2 separate regions of the Homo sapiens genome follow, and region 1 is linked to region 2. Evidence: promoter capture Hi-C in 16 types of primary human blood cells and fetal thymus (Javierre and others, 2016). All regions are on one chromosome and are shown on one strand. Each heading gives the region's core, a stretch centred on a gene start or on the middle of the fragment in contact. The rest is flanking DNA. Distances are from core to core; before and after follow the strand shown. Region 1 overlaps LOC105375825 (a long non-coding RNA gene). Region 2 holds the start of CLXN (calaxin).

What was found. Contacts are between HindIII fragments. The CHiCAGO score rates a contact against its expected background, and 5 or more counts as called.
Region 1: a contact is called between a fragment that was not itself captured here and the fragment with the promoter of CLXN in region 2, in 2 of 17 cell types (M0 macrophages and M2 macrophages). The highest score is 5.9, in M0 macrophages.

Annotation. Positions count from the first base shown.
Region 1 is chr8:48,819,916-48,823,792 of GRCh38, forward strand. LOC105375825 (a long non-coding RNA gene) reads left to right here. Exons shown (of 5, transcript XR_928859.3): 5 at 1,584-3,877. Among named protein-coding and RNA genes, the nearest start is that of CLXN, 87 kb to the left of the region's middle. RefSeq lists an enhancer at 1-74. The HindIII fragment of the contact is 997 bases long and covers 1,585-2,581 here.
Region 2 is chr8:48,733,176-48,737,118 of GRCh38, forward strand. CLXN (calaxin) reads right to left here and starts at 2,093. Exons shown (of 6, transcript NM_024593.4): 1 at 1,919-2,093. The coding sequence starts at 1,976. RefSeq lists an enhancer at 1,498-2,172. The HindIII fragment of the contact is 1,056 bases long and covers 1,492-2,547 here.

The sequences.
Region 1 (3,877 bases), core at 833-3,332, 87 kb after region 2:
CGTATTTAATCCCACAAGGTCCAGTGAGTTTGTGTTAGTCCAGTTTCACACATGTGGAAACCGAGGCCTGTCACAGAGTTGGGCAGAGCTGGACTCCAGCATCAGGCCTCGCTGCTGAAAGGACTGGAGGAAACTCCAGGCCAGAGCAGAAGGTAGGCAGTTTTCAGAGGAACTCTGAGACCTTGGTGAGTAGCAGAGGCTGGAGTTGGGGATGTCAGAAATAGCAACTAGCAACCAGAGACATCCAGGGAGCTCTGAGCATAGGCACAGAGGACGTGCAGGCACTGCAGGGCGTGGCATGAGGACACAGCCCCAGGGCTCAGCCAAGGTGGAGAGCAGCACAGGGGCCTGGCAGGGAGGAGCACTAACGGATTAGTGCCAGTCCTGGGATGGCTTCTTCCCCAGGACTCTAGGCAGTGCTTCTCTATCTTAGGCCTTTCTTTCGAATTCAAGTTTGCATTTTAAATGAAAACAGAGGCAATCTCCTTCAAAATATACTCTTAAAGATGATTGTACTTTTGAGGCAGTATCCTTTTAGTATATTCTGTACACTGAATCTGTTTTGGTTTTGCTTGACTTATTGGTGGTGAATTAGTTAAACAAAGGGAAGGAGTATCCATTTCCTTCTTTTCTTGCACAAGGCAGGGGTTTATATTCAGGAAGTAGAACTTGAATCATGAAGTTTTGCATGACTTGATCCAAGTCATTATTATAATTAGTTTTGTGGAATATTAAAGAAGGCGAGAGAAAGACAGCGGGAAGAGGAGAGTGCAGCCTTTGAAAAGCTGTGCCCCCGATAGATGTGGAGTCTTGAGTTGCACTTTGCACCGTGGTCTGGACCTCAAGGTGTCATTTTTGTCGCTGAGCCACACTGAAAGTGTCATGAAAATGGTTTCTTTTCTCCCCTGTGGCTCCTGGCCAGTCACCTGGTTGTTTATTATGTGTTCTACCATGATCATTAATGTTTGAAAAGCAGTTTTTCAACTTAGGACTCCTTGTCAATAAGTTCGTGGAAGGGGATTTGATGGAATGCATCTTAGTTTGTGTTTTGAAGGTCCCCACCCTCTTCTGTCGCTTCTGCTCCAGGTAGATTTCCTTTCCTAAAGTCTGCCTCTCCCTGTCTCCTCTTCTGGGTCTTCAGAGCCCTGCACTTCTCAACAATGTATCTTTGTTTTCTGGGTCTTACAAAGCACAGTGGCAGAATGTTCAAGAGACAATTCAAAGAAAAAGATGCCAGTAAAAATGGGAGGCGATTATTAGAAGGGACACCTAGAAACCTACCCTATGAGAGGTCATGGCAATTGCAGCATGACAGAGGAGGAAAGGTCTTAAGGTTTTGTCCTGGTGCAAACGGAAGCTGTCTGGGCTGAGAGATTCGCTTGAGCCCTTCCAGGCCATCTGTTCAAACTTGCACAAGGGTGGGGGAGGGGGGATGACTTGGTCAACCATCTCATTTGTTTCTACCATCATCTCCATGTCCATCTTTAATTATAAGAGAGTAAATCTTAAAAGTTGAAAAGGTATATTAAGTAACTATTGTTGTGGGGAAAATCCTACTTCTAATGTTTTATATTTTTTTTCAGAAGCTTGATTGTAAAGAGTGTTAACTCTTCAAGGAAAAAAAATTAAAAATATTTTTTAAAGAAAATGAAGGCCCAGATGGAAGAGGCCCCCACCTGTAACGCCAAGGTGAGCTCATCCCCAGGTACCACAATGACCTGAGGTGCTTGTAAAAGATGCCGCTCTCTTGGTGCTTGGCTAGGAGCAAGCTATGGCATGGAGAACAGGGATAGACCCACCTGAAAATCTGGACCTGCTTCTTCGTGGATGAAGGAATGTGCACCCAGGAGGCCAGGACCCCTGGTCACCTGCATGAAAGGTTTGAGGTGGTGCCGCACATTCCAGAAGGTGATGTGGTCTCAGATGATGCCCATGGGCACTGTCAGGGTGGGTCCAGGACTGCAGCTGCCTGGGCTGTTTATTCTGCAGGCAGACATGCCCTGGGGGCCAGTCTGAAGAGCAGCTCAGAGAAGGTGATCAAGCTCCATTTTCAAAAACAAAACAAAAAAGTGAAGACAGACTAACACCCAGTAAACGTGATGTGATCAGGGCTGCCACTTCCAGAGCACCCTGAGAGTCAAGACCAAAGATCACCAGCAGCCTCTGATTTGAACTTCAGATTGGATCTGGAGGCTAAGCATTCTCAGCCTGCTCTAAAGCTGGACAGGCTTCCTGACACCAGAGCTGGCTGCTGGACCTGAGGATGCACCACAGGAGGCTGAGCCTCCTCCCACAGCGGGGAGATGGTGCCCAGGTGAAAGACACGTGTCCTGAGAGAAACCCCTCGGCCCATCACTCATCACAGAGGGGCCGGGGAACAGCTCCTACTTTTCTCTCAAGCAGTGATAACATGTGATTTCCCAGGTCAATCTTGATTTCAGAAATGTTAAAAATAAATGGGCCTGGAAGACTTGTAATTTGAGAATAAGACTTGAAAACAAGTGAAAAGCAGTGAGAACAGATTTTGGTGCCTCCTAGACTTTTCTCATTGGCTGCGCACATTTAGCCTTGAAAGTAAGTAAGCTTATATAGCTGGTGTTCTTCAATCATTTCACATGAAATTGTTAGGTATGTTTTGTATAAAAATGCATGTGAAAGATATTGTGACAAAGGAAAACAAGCCTACTTGAGGATTCTTAAGAAAAGAAAAAGGGTCATTACTGAGATGTCTGTGGTCTCGAAAAGTGACTATATCCTCTTGCCTGAGGCTGAGACAAGACATGTCGGGTGGTCCCACTGCATCCGCCTCACCCACCCTCTGGTGAACCAGGCGGGGAAGTCCTCCTCCTGCAGTGGATGCACACAGACTCTCCTCACAGCTCAGAGAAAAGGCTGCTTCTGCCCACATGTGGCTTGGCAATCCAGGGCACCTGCCTGGGGAATAAAAAGTCATCCTGGGAGGTGCTTCCATGGTGGCCTCTGGCAGAATGACACCTTCTCAGGTACAGGACTCCACATCCCCTTTCTGAGCCACTGGCTGAGTTGGGCGCTCTTGTATGAGTGGGGAATAGAAGCAAAGATGTTGCTAACACCCTGCTTTGAAAGATGCTTCCTATTTAGACTGATCTCAGGTCTATCTGAGGCTCGAGGCACCGTAAGTCAAGAGGAGACAATGCCACATGCTGAACCAGGGTCAGGCAGGTACATGCACGCATTGCAAGGCTGTGAGGGAATCCTTGAGGGAGATGAGAGGATGGAAGCTAGGGGTCAAAAGAGGATGCACCAACGTGAAGGGAAATGTTGACTGGGACCCACAGCATCAAGACAAACACATGAGCAGGCTGGAGAGGAGCCCCAGGTGAAGCTTATTCTGGGAAAAGAGAATATAAGGGGTGACTTTTACTAAAGATTCAGCTCTGAACAGAACCCAGATATCATAGGGTTGCTTGTCATGCATCTACATCTCCAACAAGACATGCTAGAAGTGATGGGAGCTTGTTACACTCAGACGTGTGACCTGGAGACTCTGAGTTCTAATTCTATTCCTTTGAGGCCTGCAGACATGTCTTTGTCTTGTCTCCTAATCTCCTTTCTGTTTAGGAAAAGACAGAACACCAGAGCCACTGTCAAAATGGTGAGGATGGGATCTTGTTTTGTGGATTCCACCATAATGCTAACATAGCCCAGACTGTTGCTTTCTGTCTCCGGTTCCATGACTTCTTAATGACAAACTTGTTAAAATATGGTTTTATTTCCAAAATTTAAATGCAGGTGGGACACAATACTTCTTAAATACTGTTTCTACCATCTATTCCTCCTCTTGTCCTTTTGCTTCCACTAATATCTAGGAATAGCAAAAGCATAACTACATGAGAAG
Region 2 (3,943 bases), core at 843-3,342:
AGCCTGCATGAAGAATGATGTACTCTGTTCATGTACATAAAATGGTAGCAGAGGGGATGTTGGTTAGCCATTTTTCCATCTCAGCTGAAATAAAAATTTTTAAAAACTAGTTTAATTTATTACCCAAAGGATCAAAGGTTAGCCATAAGAAAACTTTTATTGCTAAACATTTCTTAAATTCTAGAATACAATACTAAATGAAACAAGAAAATTCAAGAATAGGTTTTCATCTTCTTGGAATGCTGTGAATGTGTCCTGCAGAACATATCTGTAGAACAGTGCATGAACTAGATGTTCTCTTAAGATCTTTCACTCTTCTTTGATTCTACAAAATTTATCCATTGAATCTTGATAGCTTTATTGTCTTGCAACTAAAACAAAATTTAACTTTAGGGGAAAGTTCTTCCGTTAAAGAAAATTTAAAATTATTATAATGTCCATGACGTATAACTATTTCTATAGACTTTAACTAATAATCATCTAAGTTTGTAAGACTCATTGAAAATTTTTTAGTAAACAAAAAAATCAAGAGCAGACTTTTTCCTGCCATATTTTTACTTACCTTTAAAAATATACACTCACCTTTTGATTGTTCACAGAATGATTGTCTGCAATGCATTCAAACTTACCGAACAGAGACTAAATCAAATTCAAACTTACGGAAAGGGACAAAATCAGTATTGTGTATAGCAGCTATTGCATTGTTTTTGAATATTTATCAAAAATGTTTACTAGATGTTTACTAGAAGAATACCTATTCTCCCAGAAATGAAAGTGTTTTAAGAAAAACAATAACAGAACAAAACCCTCATCAGAGTATAGTAGTCATAATAATATCTTAAATTACAGGATTTTTTTCCTAAACATTTTAAGATGCGTACACACACCATAATATTCATTTATATCACCATCCACTAAGAGAGCATTTCTTACCAGGTATTAAATCAGATACTAATGATAATTAGAATGCACTAGATCTTACAATCTCTAAAACTACATCAACATGTTTATTCCTTCTTTTTTGAGCGACTCGGTTATTTGGGGGATTGTTGCTTCTGTTTCTTCAAGTGGCCAGTAGTTTTGCAATTAGCACACACAACTTCTAAGTTTGCTCGACAGGAAATTATCTTCCTCATCTAAACCATACCCACGGCTTCCTTGCTAAAGTGCAATTATGTTTTTCAGTCTGAATATAAACTCAAAGTTTCCTATGAAATTCTAGGACCACCCTTTCAAATGCGAGATTAGAGCAGGTGCCTTCAAATAGGGCTCATCTTGTCACCTGCAAAGTCTCCTTTATCTTTCAACACCAGGGGCCACTGGAAAGTGGGAGTCTAAAGTTGGGAACCCATTCTTTACCACGTGTTTAGTTGTGCTGAACTCTGGTTTCCAAACAAATATTGTTCTGAGGCACAGATGAGATGACACAACTCATCTCTCCGAAAGATGTTGAGAAGTTGAGCACCGTTTTCTCCTATGGGTCTCTTGGTAAGCTTCCAGAACTTGGACCTGCGGGTGTATGTGCGAGCTATAAAGCAGGGTGAGTGCACGGTCTACCTTGGTGGTGCTACTTTTCTTGAGACCAGTTGGTTTTAGCATTTATTTTACACCTCATTGAGGCTAACATCACATGTTTCTATCAGGTAAAAGAAGAGGGTTGGAGAAGCAAGTAAATGCATGTGTGGGAGTGTAGGTAGCACCAGAGGCGGAGGCCTGGGTTCCTAAGATCAAACGCAAGGAGCTGGCACCCCGGGATTCCCTCTCTGACTTCTGCTTAAGGGGCCGGGGTGGAGGGGCGGTAGGTAGCCCACAGAGTCCCAGCAGGCGGGAAGCAGGCACAACAGCGGACCTTAGCACGGGGTGGGACCCAGGCTCGGTCCAGGAGCCTCGGCCTGTCCAGCACTACATTCTTACTTACAATGCTTGCAATTTTTGGTTAAGGTGTCCGTCAGCTTCTGCAGTTTCTTGCGGTTCATGTCTGGCGCTCAGAGAATCGGGCCGCGGCGGGGGTCTCTGGGCGCGCGGCTACCGAGACCCTCGCGGGACCCCCGCGAGCCCTGGTGCTGGGTCAACGCGGTGAGGTCTCAGTTACTGATCTCGTGCGCGGCCCTAACAGACGGTGTAGCCAAGGCAACGGCTCAGCCCGCCGCGGATTGGCTCCCAGGCTGCCCGCGACGTAGCCAAAGCTACAGCTGGGCCCCGCCCATCGGCTCAGCGACTGCTCGCGCTGGGTTCTCGGTGCGCGGTGCCGCCGGCAGGGTCCCAGCTGGCCGCCTTGAGGGCTGTATTCTGACTGTTGACGTTGGAGTTTAAATGTTCAGTTGTTGCTGGCTTTTGAGTTCGCAGCCTCTTTGCTTGATTGCAGTGTAAATCATTAAAATCTGAAATGTGGTGTGCACGCTGTATGAGAGGTGTTTCGGGTCGTGAGCGTCACGCCTCAAGGGAAGGCCCAAGATCTTGGACATCTTGGGGGCTGGAGCAGCGTCACAAAATAGCAAGGTGCTGTCCAGAGGACGATCTTGCCGGGCCTCCCGTCAGAGGGCTAGAAGCTTGCTCTTTGGGCGGAGCCACTGCTTAGGTTTTCAGTCTTGGTGAGGTAACAGGAGGCAGTCTGTCACCTGAGGTCTTCGAGCTTTTAGTTGTGTTTCTGAGAGCAAGGGGAAATTGGAATACAGCCACGGGTTGCCTAAGGAGCGGGACGCGTTCCGAGGTCACTAGGAGATTTCATCACTGTGTGCACATCACGGTGCACCGACACAAACCTAGATGGCCTTGCCTACTGCACGCCAGGCTGTATGGTACAACCCATTGCTTCTGGGCTGCACCCCTGCACAGCAGGTCACAGCGCGGAATGCTGCAGGCAGCTAAAACAGAGTGCTAAGCACTCTGGGGAAGGTGCAGTGTTCCAGTACAGTGTTACATCTTATGGGACCACTGTCCTAATGTTGTCTGATGTTGACTTAAATGGCGCTATGTGGCTTGTGACTGTAGTTTTTTTCTTTTCCCACTGCCCTCATCTCACTTCCAAAAGATGGAGGTTGTCTGTGGAATCTGAGGAAAGCCACGAGGAATTTTTATACTGCTTAAATAGGCATTCCCCCCAATGAAAACGGGCTGACAACACCACTTGGGTGTGGGGTACAGCCCAATCTTGCTTTTCCGGAAAATATCTCAGCAACCTTGGTCCTTTACTTATTTGAAAGACAAGTTCTGTGCCGGCAGACAAAGGATATTCCTTACATCTTCAGGGTGGGAGGACTTTCTGCTTTTCCTGATCACAGAGGGGATATCCTCTTTCAGCTAAGGCAGCAATAAAAAGGGGTGGCTCAGCCAGGATCACCAAATCTACAGTATTCTCCAGAGTGCCTGCTCGTTTAACTTCAGAGGGGAAAATGACAAACTATGTTATTGTACACATACTGGCATTTTTAGACTGAAGGCAGAAAAATTCTACTAACCATGAGTAATAATCCCAAATGAAATAATTCCAATGTCGAGGCCTCTGGTTTTTCTTTACTGTTTCATTTGTTTGTGGAATGAAGGATTGGGATGCTGTTTGAAACTAGAGCAAAGGGTGCTTGGTAAAGGCATGGACTGTGTTATCCTAAAGCAAATGTCCTAACAACAGTTACCCGATATGAATTGATGGTGATTATGAGTTTGTAACAGTAGTATTTTTAAATAGTGTTTCTACATATCCCCTTGTCTAGAAGAGTGAAATTCCTGAGACCATAGAGAACAAAAGGGAAAGACTGGACATATTTGAATTATACTTACCTGTGACACCTTATTGATTTCTGTTGGATCACAGAGCTGTAGCAAATACTTAATTCCTAGAGATTGCTGCACTGCTCACTTCAAGAGACAAGGAACCGAAAGAGTGGTTGTCAGTAATTACTAAGAGACGCTGTGGGCTCCCCACCTGATGTACTAGGCCTGTGTT